Regions from separate parts of the Homo sapiens genome. Here all the other regions are linked to region 3. Evidence: promoter capture Hi-C in human tissues and cell types (Jung and others, 2019). All regions are on one chromosome and are shown on one strand. Each heading gives the region's core, a stretch centred on a gene start or on the middle of the fragment in contact. The rest is flanking DNA. Distances are from core to core; before and after follow the strand shown. Region 1 overlaps ITCH (itchy E3 ubiquitin protein ligase). Region 2 overlaps ITCH (itchy E3 ubiquitin protein ligase). Region 3 holds the start of TP53INP2 (tumor protein p53 inducible nuclear protein 2). Region 4 overlaps ITCH (itchy E3 ubiquitin protein ligase).

Region 1 (2,700 bases), core at 185-2,684, 330 kb after region 3:
AATAAAATAAAGATGGGGTCTCACTATGTTATCCAGGCTGGTCTCAAACTCCTGGCCTCAAGAGATCCTCCTGCCTTAGCCTCTCAAAGTGCTGGGATTATGGCATGAGCCACCATGACCAGCCCATAACATGTTTTAAAATATGTACATGTTGTGGAATGGCTAAATCGAGCTAAATAACATATACATAACCTCACATACTTACTTTTACCTCCATTAAAAAAAAAAAAAAAAAAGGCCAGGTGCGGTGGCTCACGCCTGTAATCTCAGCATTTTGGGAGGCCGAGGCAGGCGGATCACCTGAGGTCGGAAGTTCCAGACCAGCCTGACCAACATGGAGAAACCTCGTCTCTGCTAAAAATACAAAATTAGCCAGGCGTGGTGGCACACACCTGTAAACCCAGCTACTTGGGAGGCTGAGGCAGGAGAATTGCTTGAACCCGGAAAGCGGAGGTTATGGTAAGCCAAGATTGCGCCATTGCACTCCAGCTGGGGCAACAAGAGCGAGATTCTGTCTCAAAAAAAAAAAAAAATCACGCCAGGCGTGGTGGCTGACACCTGTAATCCCAGCACTTTGGGAGGCCGAGGCGGGTGGATCACCTGAGGTCAGGAGTTCAACACCAGCCTGGCCAAAATGATGAAACCCTATCTCTACTAAAAATACAAAAAATTAGCCAGGCGTGGTGGAGAGCACCTGTAATTCCAGCTACTTGGGAGGCTGAGGCAGGAGAATTGCTTGAACCCGGGAGGCAGAGGTTGAGGTTGCAGTGAGCCAAGATCATGCCACTGCACTCCAGCCTGGGCAACAAAAGTGAAACTCTGTCTCAAAAAAAAAAAAAAAAAATTGTAAGCCAAAGCTGCTTTAACAGCTGCTCCCTTGGAGGGGAATGAATTCCCTAGTTCACTTAAAGTCCCAGTCTGATCTGTCATTACTTACTAAATGTTCATCCAGCCCTTGCAGGCATTTAAATTTACAATGCTCAGCCTAAATAGGTTTACTGAATGATTTATGAACTCAGATCATAACTTTAAGAAAGATAAGGTTGATGGTAATGATGATAATGAAAACAACGACTAACACTTCACACTGTGAGCCAAGTCTTGTTCAAGCAGAAACACATAATACCTATGTATATATGCTATTACTATTCCCAATTTACAGATGAGAAAACTAAGGCAAAAAGAAGTTAGGCAAGTTGGCCAAGATCATACCACCACTACACAGTAGAGTCAAAATTCAAAATCAACCTAACTCCAGTAAATACTGTTAACTCCTACAATATAATCCTTTAGACTAAAATCCTTTCCTTTGTGACCAACTAAATTTGATTATTTGGAAAAATAATCAAGACAAAATTGTAGAACCTACTCTTTCTTTGCACGAATGAAGGCCTAACAAGCAAATCAAAGTTCACCTAAATGCAGATGGTTATTTCTGGAGCTTATCTTGTCTTAAAAAAATAAAAAATAAAAAGTCCATCCTGGCCAACATGGTGAAACCTCGTCTCTACTAAAATACAAAAAATTAGCCAGGCGTGGTGGTGGGCACCTGTAGTCCCAGCTACATGGGAGGCTGAGGCAGGGGAATCGCTTTAACCTGGGAGACGGAGATTACAGTCAGCCAAGACTGTGCCACTGCACTCCAGCCTGGCGACAAAGCAAGACTGCATCTTAAAAAAAAATAAAAAAAAAAAATGTTCTCTTGTAACTGACAAAGAAAAGGTTGCAGAATCCAGTAAAATAATAAACATTTTCTCAGAAAGCAAGCAAGTTAGTAGATATTTCTGGAGTGAGTTAAGCTCAATATGTAGATGAATTCTTAACCTGTAAGTGACGACATAGTATTAAAATTCTTCTCTTTTCTGGGACAGAAGGATAGATCTATTAGGGTAAGCAATTTCCAGACATGGAAAAAAAAAATGCGAGTTGCTGGAGGGCAGAGATTGCTTTTTCACCATAAGTCCCTGCAATGTCTAGCATACAGCAGCACTTAAAATACATTCAATTATGTTAGGCCGAATGCCTATAATTCCAGCACTTTGGGAGGCCAAGGCAGGCGGATCACCTGAAGTCAGGAGTTTGAGACCAGCCTGGCCAATATGGTGAAACCCCATCTCTAGTAAAAATATAAAAATTAGCTGGCCATGGTGGCAGGGACCTGTAATCCCAGCTACCCAGGAGGCTGAGGCAGGAGAATGGCTTGAACCCAGGAAACGGAGGTTGCAGTGAGCCAAGATTACACCACTGCACTCCAGCCTGGGCGAGAACAAGACTCTGCCTCAAAAAAAAAAAAAAAATACATTTGGCCAGGTGCAGTGGCTTATGCCTGTAATCCAGAACTTTGGGAGGTCGAGGCAGGTGGATTATTTGAGGTCAGGAGTTCAAGATCAGCCTCACCAACACAGTGAAACCCTATCTCTAGTAAAAATACAAAATTAGCTGGGCGTGGTGGCACATGCCTATAATCCCAGCTACTTGGGAGACTCAGGCAGGAGAATCGCTTGAACCCAGTGGGTGGAGGCTGCAGTAAGCTGAGATTGCACCATTGCACTCCAGCCTCGGCAACAAGAGAAAAACTCCGTCTCAAAAAAAAAAAAAAAAGGAATACATTCAATCATGTTAAAGGAACCAAAAAATCTGAACTTAATTTCTTAAATTGCAATGCAATGAAACTCTTGTAACATTTACCAACTTCCTTTT
Region 2 (2,700 bases), core at 88-2,587, 270 kb after region 3:
ATAAGTAGGCTTATGAAGAATCCTAAAGACAACATATGTTAATTTAAAAAGTTACTCACCCAGGTGGCAAGGGAGCTTGAGTTACAGGATTTAATGGCCTAGGGCCTGAGCCTCCAGATATAGTAAGAGGAATTATTAATCCAGATGTTGCTCCTTCAGATGTATTTGTATTTGTATTTGTCGGCGGCAGAGAGCCTGTACTAGACCCATCACTTTCAGAAGTGGCAGATGGTGAACCATTGACAGATGCTATAAAAGATTTGGGGAAAATAGGAAAAGAATCTTTCATTTTCTAAAATTCAGGATAGAATTTTAACTGTAAAAAATAAAAGGCAGATGATAAATATAAAACTTAAGATGTAGATGCACAGGTGAAAATTACTTAAAGAAATAAGTAATGGGAAATAACCAACGCTGCCAGTTAATAGGCTTGTTTACTTTTTCGGTCCTGTCTACCCCTATGTCCCATTACTAATCACGAAGCATGTACAGGTTCTCTGATCTTCTGATGTCACTGGAAATAAAAACTTTTAGAATAGGAAATTATTAATATTCCTTGGTATTTTAAGTTCATTTATTAATTTTCCAGCTCCTTAAAACTGCTTTCCTGTGAAACCGTGCAGATTACAGACCAATTTTTGATGTTGGTTATAATATGGAAGGTCTGATAAGAAATAACATTCTTACAGATAGTTAGTAGTCATACATTACACCTTTAAGAAATACTTGTGGACAAAACAATGTCTAGAGGAAGTCACCAAGATTATAATAAAGACATCTTAAAGACTCAGAATATACAATTAATCAAATTATCTATAAAAGGGGAAGATGTGGCTGCAGTGGCTTACGCCCGTAACTCCCACACTTTGGGAGGCCGAGGCAGAAGGATCACTTTCAGCTCAGGAGCTCCAGACCAGCCTGCGCAACATGGCAAAACTCCATCTCTACAAAAAATATAAATATTTAGCCAGGCATTGGTGGCTCATGACTGTGGTACCAGCTACTCGGGAGGCTGAGGCTAGACAATCACTTGAGCCTGGGAAGTAGAGGTGGCAGTGAGCTGAGATGTCACCACATTCCAGTCTGGGTGACAGAGTGAGACCCTGTCTCAAAAAATAAAAAAATAAAAAGGAGAAGATGTATAATTGAATAGAAATTCACTTAAAATTATTTGCAGAGAACTAATGTACTTTTCTAGTAATATTTGGTTTAACTACACTGCATTCCCTGCCCACATATTAGCAGAGAGAAACAATAAAAGGTAAGATTAAAGATTTGTTCTGGCTATCAGAGAAGTGGATAGTCTTATAGGTGTTCACATTTTTACTACCTAAAATATGCTTGTTTGTTGTGTACTTTTTATTTAAAATCTGGGTCATTTAGCATTGTTGGGTTTTCGTTTACTAACTTTTTAAAGGATATACTAGGAATAAGCAACCAAATCCTTGAGTATTTAATACATTTATGTTATAGTTACAAACCATTTAAGAAAGGTACAATGTTATTGCCATGTTATCTGCACCGCCTATACTTTATATTACGCACATGTCATTTTCATTCTCAGTAGAGCACTGCCTCAGTAACGTCACCTTGAACAAAAACTTAGGAAAAAGGCACTTTTGGTTACCTACAGAAAGATCATTCTTTTCCAAAATCTTAAATGTAAAAATACACGCAGAAAATTCACCTAAAAGAATTTCCTGACACTTACCTGAGGATTAATTGCCAACCAGGACATTATTTCCAAGAGTATTGAGAGCTGGAATACAAACCTGGTCTACGTGGGGTGGGTGGTGGTGGTCGTGAAGGTCTTGGAGGTCTAGAAGGTTTAAAACCACCATTTGAGAGTGATGGAGAATTATTCCCACTGACTCTCCTATTTTCACCAGCTCCTGCATCTTCAGGGTCATCTGATCCATTTGTGCTCACTCTGGGTAAGAAGAGGGGAAAAGGAAGGGGGAGAGGGAAATAATGAATACTCCTTGAATTTAAGAAAAAAAACAGCAGGAGGATGAAAACTTCTAAGTTTTTAAGAGCTTCAAAAAAGCTTTTTAATTTCTGGTCAGCCTTATTAAATACATAAAGAGCCTTTGGGTAGAATCCTATATAACCCCCAGAGTTCATCTAGAGATAGAGTGATGGGTTGTCCAAGGGCATAGGAACACTTGTGGCCATTCAGAACTATTAGGTATGCTGGTTCATATTTCAAATAAGCCTTCAGAAGGCCCTATATGAACAGGAACAAAGTCAAGTTCTCAAAATCCTTAGGGCACTATTTTATCACAAGCACAGATAACTTTACCATTGTTGTTTCTTGATTTCCACTGGCTATTAATTCAAGTTTGAGGCAGGTCTGGTTTTCCCATGCTAGGAGAACAAAGTGCACGTATTTCCCAGGGACTAGGCCCTGATATCCCCCAGCTCAGTACAATGGTACACAAAATGTTCAAAGCTAGTGATTTAGAGTAGAAGTAACCACAGACTTTTTTTAAAGGAGCTGTCATTTCTTCAAAGCAATGACATCAACTGGAGGGATAGAAAGGAGGGAAGAACACTAACAGGAAATGTCAGACTGAAAGCTACTGCTACTGTTGGCTAAATATAGCTGATTCCTTTTCCTTCCAGAGGGGCTCTAGTCATAGATTAGAAACAAGGGCATAAGTAGCCAGTCTGCAGATGTCTCAGCCAAGGCTCTGGTAT
Region 3 (2,700 bases), core at 181-2,680:
CCCAGCCCATCCTTGAGCAAACTCCCAGCAGGAATGGAGTTCCTGGTTCAGCCTCTAGGCCCATCCACTTGTTAAGTCAGAAACTCTCCTTATCCTATCCCTTCTCCTATACTCTCTGTGGGCAGAGGTGACGAGGGAGCAGCAAAACACCTGCAATTGTCTGCACTAGGCCAGGTCAGGCCCTTCCTAGCTGACGACCTAGGAAGTTGGGAAGGTAAAGGGCCAATAGAGGGAACCCTCACCCCACCCTCCACCCCAACATCAGCCCTGGAGACACCCCGAGGCAGCCAATGACTCACCTCTCTGTGATCCAAACAGCTGGGAGGCAGCGATTTTATTGGACTCTAGGACTTCAAGGTACAGTGAGGACAGAAGGGGTCAGGACCACAAAAGGTGAACCAATCTCCAGAGATTCCCTGGAAAAGGGTCCAGGAGTAAGGACACCTAGGAGCCTATCAAACCGTGATAAGGCTGAGCCCAAGATCGGGTCCCCAGTGGAAGGAGGATGTGTATCTTACCACTTGTACTGAGCCCCTATTATGTCTTTGCCCCTGGCTAATAATCCATCTGTCACTCAGTGAGCATGACTCTAATTGGTTATGTGACCTCGAGAGAGCTAATCCTCCTCTCTGGGCCTGTTGCCCCTTCCATGCACTGGGGTCTAAGACCCTTCATTTTGGGTCTAGGAGTGACATCAGCTAAGGCGCTGCACACAAATCAGGGATTAGGAGGATGTTATTCTGTTAGTCCCTGGGGGCGGAGTCTGGAGCCGGAGGGAGGGGATCCCACCACCATCTGGTGCTGTCCCAACCACCTGGAGTCCCATGCAGCCCTGAACTCCTGACGACCCCCTCAACCTAGGCCCAGCAGCGCCGTCTGACTCCTTCTCAGGTTGCAAAGAGAAAGTAGGGGATCAGAGGCCTGACCCCAGCCCCTGGATAAGCCTAGGAAATCGCCGATCCCCCTGCAGCCCCCTTTGGATTGCAGCGTCTCACCCAGGGCCCAGCCCCGACACAGCGGCTACCGGGTCACGGGAGGACAAGCGACCCGAGCCTGTGGGGGCGGTACCGGCCTTGGTGACGTCTCAATGTCATATGCAAATAGAACGACGTCATGGTCTACCGGGCGTGCGGCAACCAATCGGGAGCCGGGAACGCGGCCCCGGCGGCCGCCGGCGGAGACAGACAAAGGCCCGGGCGCGGGGGGCGCAGGGCGTGTCCGTGGCAGGGGAGCCCCCAGGCCCACCCGGGTCGGGACTCACCTGGGGGCGGGAGGGGGGCGGCACGGCGTTGAGGTAGTTGTGCGGCGGGGCGTCCCAGGGTCGCCGGCCGCTCACAGGCCGGGCCGCATCGCCGGGACTCGCGGGGGAGGCGGCGGGGCCGCGGTCGCTCCGGGCTGCTGAGCTCGCCCGCGGGGCTTTGAGTCTGTGCGGCCGCTGCGGCGGGGCTCACGGCACAAATTGGAACGTTCAAACAGCTGATTGTGACGTCACAAAGGGGCCCGCCCGCCTCGCGTCACCGGCTGGCGGGGCGGCGGCCAATCCCGGGCTGCGGATCCCCCCCTGCCCCTCCCCTCCCCTCCCCTCCCGGTTTGCGGGCCGGGCGCTCGGGCCGGGAAACGTTCTCGGAACCGGGAGGGTGAGTGTTCGGGGAGGCAGCTGCGGGGAGCTGGGAGCCCTGCGCCGCGGCGAGCTCTCCGCGAGGAGGATCTCCACTCCCTCCTACCGGCTCCTTATTTTCCTGATTCTTCCCGGATCGCAGCGCCCTCACCTCTCCCACTGCTCCCCAAATCCTTTCACTGCATCCTATATCCAAGTCCCCCGATGCGGACCCTGTTCTCGACCCACACCACGTCCGTGCACCTGCATTCTCCCCACTGCCCTTATTCCTGCTCTCCCTCCCCCCTCTGGCTCACCTCCTCAGCCTTACACACTCTGCTTTCCCACCCCGTTTTTCCTCAGCTCGGCGGGCTTGAGAAAAGAGGGACATCCCCAACCCCCGGTTCCCGGGGAGCATCTGGGAATGTAGAGAAGTTAGTGAAGCTGACGTGAAATTTCGCAGAGTAGGACTTGGAGAGGAATTGCCCTGGGCTGAGTAAACATTGACCTGAGACGGCTCCGCGCTTGAACGTTTACATACCTTATTTAATCTATGTTGCTACCGGGGCTGTAAAGAAGTGGCAGGACAGGGACTGATTATGAGTCCTGATTTACACGTGGGAAAGCTGAGTCTCACAATCTCACTGTTAGCGTGTGAACTCATGTTCAACAATGCATTCAACATTTATTAGGCACCTACTATTGCACCACCATACCACTAGCTGACATGTATTGGCACACTTACTGTGTGCCACGACCTGTGCTATGGGTGTGTTTTTTTATCTTCACAACAACCCAAAAGGTAGATATTGTCCCGTTTAACAGTTGAGGAAACAGACTCAGAGAGCTCAAGTGACTTTCTTAGGTCACAAAAGTACAGTCAATGGCAGAGCCAGGATTTGAACCCATAGCTCCCAGCCCTGACCCTCTCCATTCTCTACATGAACCAGATGGTCTAAACCTCAGGGCGCTTTAGCCTCCCCAGAGTCCTGGCTTTCAGTCCTGACTGTGCCCTAGACTTGCTGTGTGACCTCAAGTCATGTTACCTCTCTGGGTCTCAGTTTGTCAAACAAACATATCCAGGCTTCCCTCTAGAGCTGCCA
Region 4 (2,700 bases), core at 146-2,645, 290 kb after region 3:
AGAAATCATAATAGGGATGAAATAAAAGGCAAATAAATTTAACTTTACTATTTTTAATATGGAAGAAAGGTACATAAAGTATACTGTCAAAGATGATCAGTCTTGTTTCAATTCAATTCTCAAAAGCAGTCTGGAAAGCCTGCTACACGACAATGGGAAGTGATAAAATTCCAGGCCAATTTGCTGCAACTTAAAAATTCAGGAAAATAACTTGAATTGTAAGTTTCCCAAATGTTTGTAATCAAGAACAGCACTACCACATAGAACTACAAAGAGAGTTTTTTTCTTAACTTTTAAATCACTAAGAAGTTCATGACATTAACAGCTTAAGAGCCTCCAAGTGCATATCAAGTACGCACTCAAAGCAGTTGGAGGAAATTAGGTGACCATCTAATTCAACTGAACATCTCTGGTAATCATGGAGGCTGCGACCTTTTATAGATACCACTTGGTAAAGGAAAAAATATATATGAGATGGGAACTCGCTACTTTGCCCTGGTTAATCTCGAACTCCTCCTGGGCTAAAGCACCTTATCCTCCCCCCTTATCCTCCCAAGTAGCTGGGATTGCAAACATGTGCAGTCATTCCCAGCCTCATGTGTTTTCTTGAAATTTTTTTAATACATTGTTTCATTTTGACTCAATCTACAATGAGCCATTAATTAAAAACAGAAAGCCTAAGAAACATTTATGTTGAAATAAACACAGATGAGGAACATCCGAATGATACGGGCCTCAAGATGATCTTCCATAAATTCTTTTTTTTTTTTCTCTCTTTTTTGAGACAGAGTTTCACTTGTCACCCTGGCTGGAACGCAATGGCACGATCTCAGTTCACTGCAACCTGCAACCTCCGCCTACCAGGTTCAACCAATTCTCCTGTCTCAGCCTCCCGAGTAGCTGGGATTACAGGCACCCACCACCACACCCAGCTAATTTTTGTATTTTTAGTAGAGATGGGGTTTCACCACGTTGGTCAGGCTGGTCTCGAACTCCTGACCTCAGGTGATCCTCCTACCTTGGCCTCCCAAACTGCTGGGATTACAGGAGTGAGCCACCATGCCTGGCCAAATCATTCTTTTTCTTCTTTTTTTTTTTTGTTTGTCTTTTTGTAGAGACAGGGTCTCGCTACATTGCCCAGGCTAGAGTTCAGTAGCAATTCACAGGAGCAATCATATCAAACTGCACCTTTGAACTCCTGGCCTCACACAATCCTCCTGGCTCAGTCTCCCAAAGAGTTGAGATTACAGGTGTGAGCCACCACACCTGGCTCCATGTGTTTTCTTCTATTTTAATTTTAAAAATTAAAATTAACCTTCAATGGCTGTCAATATCTTAGATTATAATGCCAACATTTAGGGCTTTGTGTTAAAACTGAGCTATATCCTACTTCTATGAATCTACACTACAGATATAAACACCAACATACAAAGATATATGCACATGGATGTATCTGCAATACTGCCTAATAGCGCAACATTAGAATCAATACAGAACTATTAAAATATAGTCCACCCATATTAAGGAATATTACAAAGCTATATAAGGGATGCAAGATCCATATGTACTCAGGTAAAGAGATCACCATGATATTAGTGTTAAGTACAAAAAGAAAGTTGTAGAATAAAATGTATAGTAGTAGTCCTAGCTACTTGAGAAAAAGGCTGAGATGGGAAGACTGCTTGAGCCGGGAAGGTTGAGAGAGAGCACTCTGGACAACATAGCAAGACCCCATCTCATTCAAAAAATAAATAACTATAGTATAACTGGCACCGTAATTTAAAATACTAAAAAACTGGCCAGGCACAGTGATGCATGCCTGTGGTCCCAGCTACTTGGGAGGCTGAGGCAGGAGGATCTCTTGAGGCCAGGAGTTCAAGGCTGCTGTGAGCTATGATAGTGCCACTATACTCCAGCTTGGGTGACAGGGTGAGGCTCTATCTCAAAATAAAACAAAGAAAAAACTAACTAAAACACTATTTTTAAAAATTAAGTTAAAAACCGGGGGGGGGGGGAGTACTCATAATCCCTTAATTCAACCCAAAGTTAATAAAAAGTGCTGCCAGAAATCTTTTTAGGTCCGTGACCATGGGCTCTCTTCAGCTATTGTTCAGTGACAAGAGCAATATCATCACCAACTAAACTAGAGAAGGTAAAGAAAGGGAGTGACTATAAAAACAGCTATCTAAAGAGAAACAAAAAAGCAAACCAGAAGGAGTCCTAGGAAAAAGAAAAAAAAAAAAAGAAGAGAGAAAGGAGGAACAACAACAACAAAAAACCAAAGTGAGAAACATTTTTTTAAATTGTATTTCCAATCATCTACTAAACAAAACATACTACAGAAAAATACTTCCAAGCTTACACTGTAAGGGGTTGCTTCCACTTGGGACTGTTTGTGTTGTTGCATTTTTCTGTCTTCTTTGACTGTCCATCTACTGTGACCTCTACGTAAGGACTTGGTCCAAACCAATTCTTCTTATTTTCCTTAAGTTTTGCTGAGATGACTATGTAAAAGAAATGAAAAACATTTCAATAGTTGAGATGTTAATTCACTCATGAAATCAATTTAACTTCATAATTAGGCAGATTTACTAAATTTACTCAGAGAAGCAGTTTTGCTCTAAAATACTTACCAATTTTATTCACTCATAACCTTTGTACTTCCTCCCATCCTAGTAAATAAATATAGAGGTTCCCCGT

The links. The method cuts DNA at HindIII sites, captures the fragments that hold promoters and counts their contacts. A contact is called where the count stands out against the background at its distance.
Region 1: a contact is called between a fragment that was not itself captured here and the fragment with the promoter of TP53INP2 in region 3, in 2 of the 25 tissues and cell types used here (lymphoblastoid cells and spleen).
Region 2: a fragment that was not itself captured here is called in contact with the fragment with the promoter of TP53INP2 in region 3 in 2 of the 25 tissues and cell types used here (dorsolateral prefrontal cortex and lymphoblastoid cells).
Region 4: a fragment that was not itself captured here is called in contact with the fragment with the promoter of TP53INP2 in region 3 in 2 of the 25 tissues and cell types used here (dorsolateral prefrontal cortex and lymphoblastoid cells).

The regions. Positions count from the first base shown.
Region 1 is chr20:34,372,877-34,375,576 of GRCh38, reverse strand. All of the region lies in intron 2 of ITCH (itchy E3 ubiquitin protein ligase), which reads right to left. Among named protein-coding and RNA genes, the nearest start is that of ITCH, 11 kb to the right of the region's middle. The HindIII fragment of the contact is 5,475 bases long and covers 1-2,700 here.
Region 2 is chr20:34,437,704-34,440,403 of GRCh38, reverse strand. ITCH (itchy E3 ubiquitin protein ligase) reads right to left here. Exons shown (of 25, transcript NM_031483.7): 8 at 1,773-1,930; 9 at 60-249. Among named protein-coding and RNA genes, the nearest start is that of MIR644A, 27 kb to the left of the region's middle. The HindIII fragment of the contact is 9,574 bases long and covers 1-2,700 here.
Region 3 is chr20:34,703,074-34,705,773 of GRCh38, reverse strand. It overlaps TP53INP2 (tumor protein p53 inducible nuclear protein 2), which reads right to left and starts at 1,430. Exons shown (of 5, transcript NM_021202.3): 1 at 1,262-1,430; 2 at 300-416. It overlaps LOC105372599 (a long non-coding RNA gene), which reads left to right and starts at 1,592. Exons shown (of 2, transcript XR_936690.3): 1 at 1,592-1,637; 2 at 1,961-2,115. RefSeq lists a silencer at 1,155-1,634. The HindIII fragment of the contact is 10,895 bases long and covers 1-2,700 here.
Region 4 is chr20:34,408,455-34,411,154 of GRCh38, reverse strand. It overlaps ITCH (itchy E3 ubiquitin protein ligase), which reads right to left. Exons shown (of 25, transcript NM_031483.7): 4 at 2,363-2,504. Among named protein-coding and RNA genes, the nearest start is that of ITCH, 47 kb to the right of the region's middle. The HindIII fragment of the contact is 5,070 bases long and covers 1-2,700 here.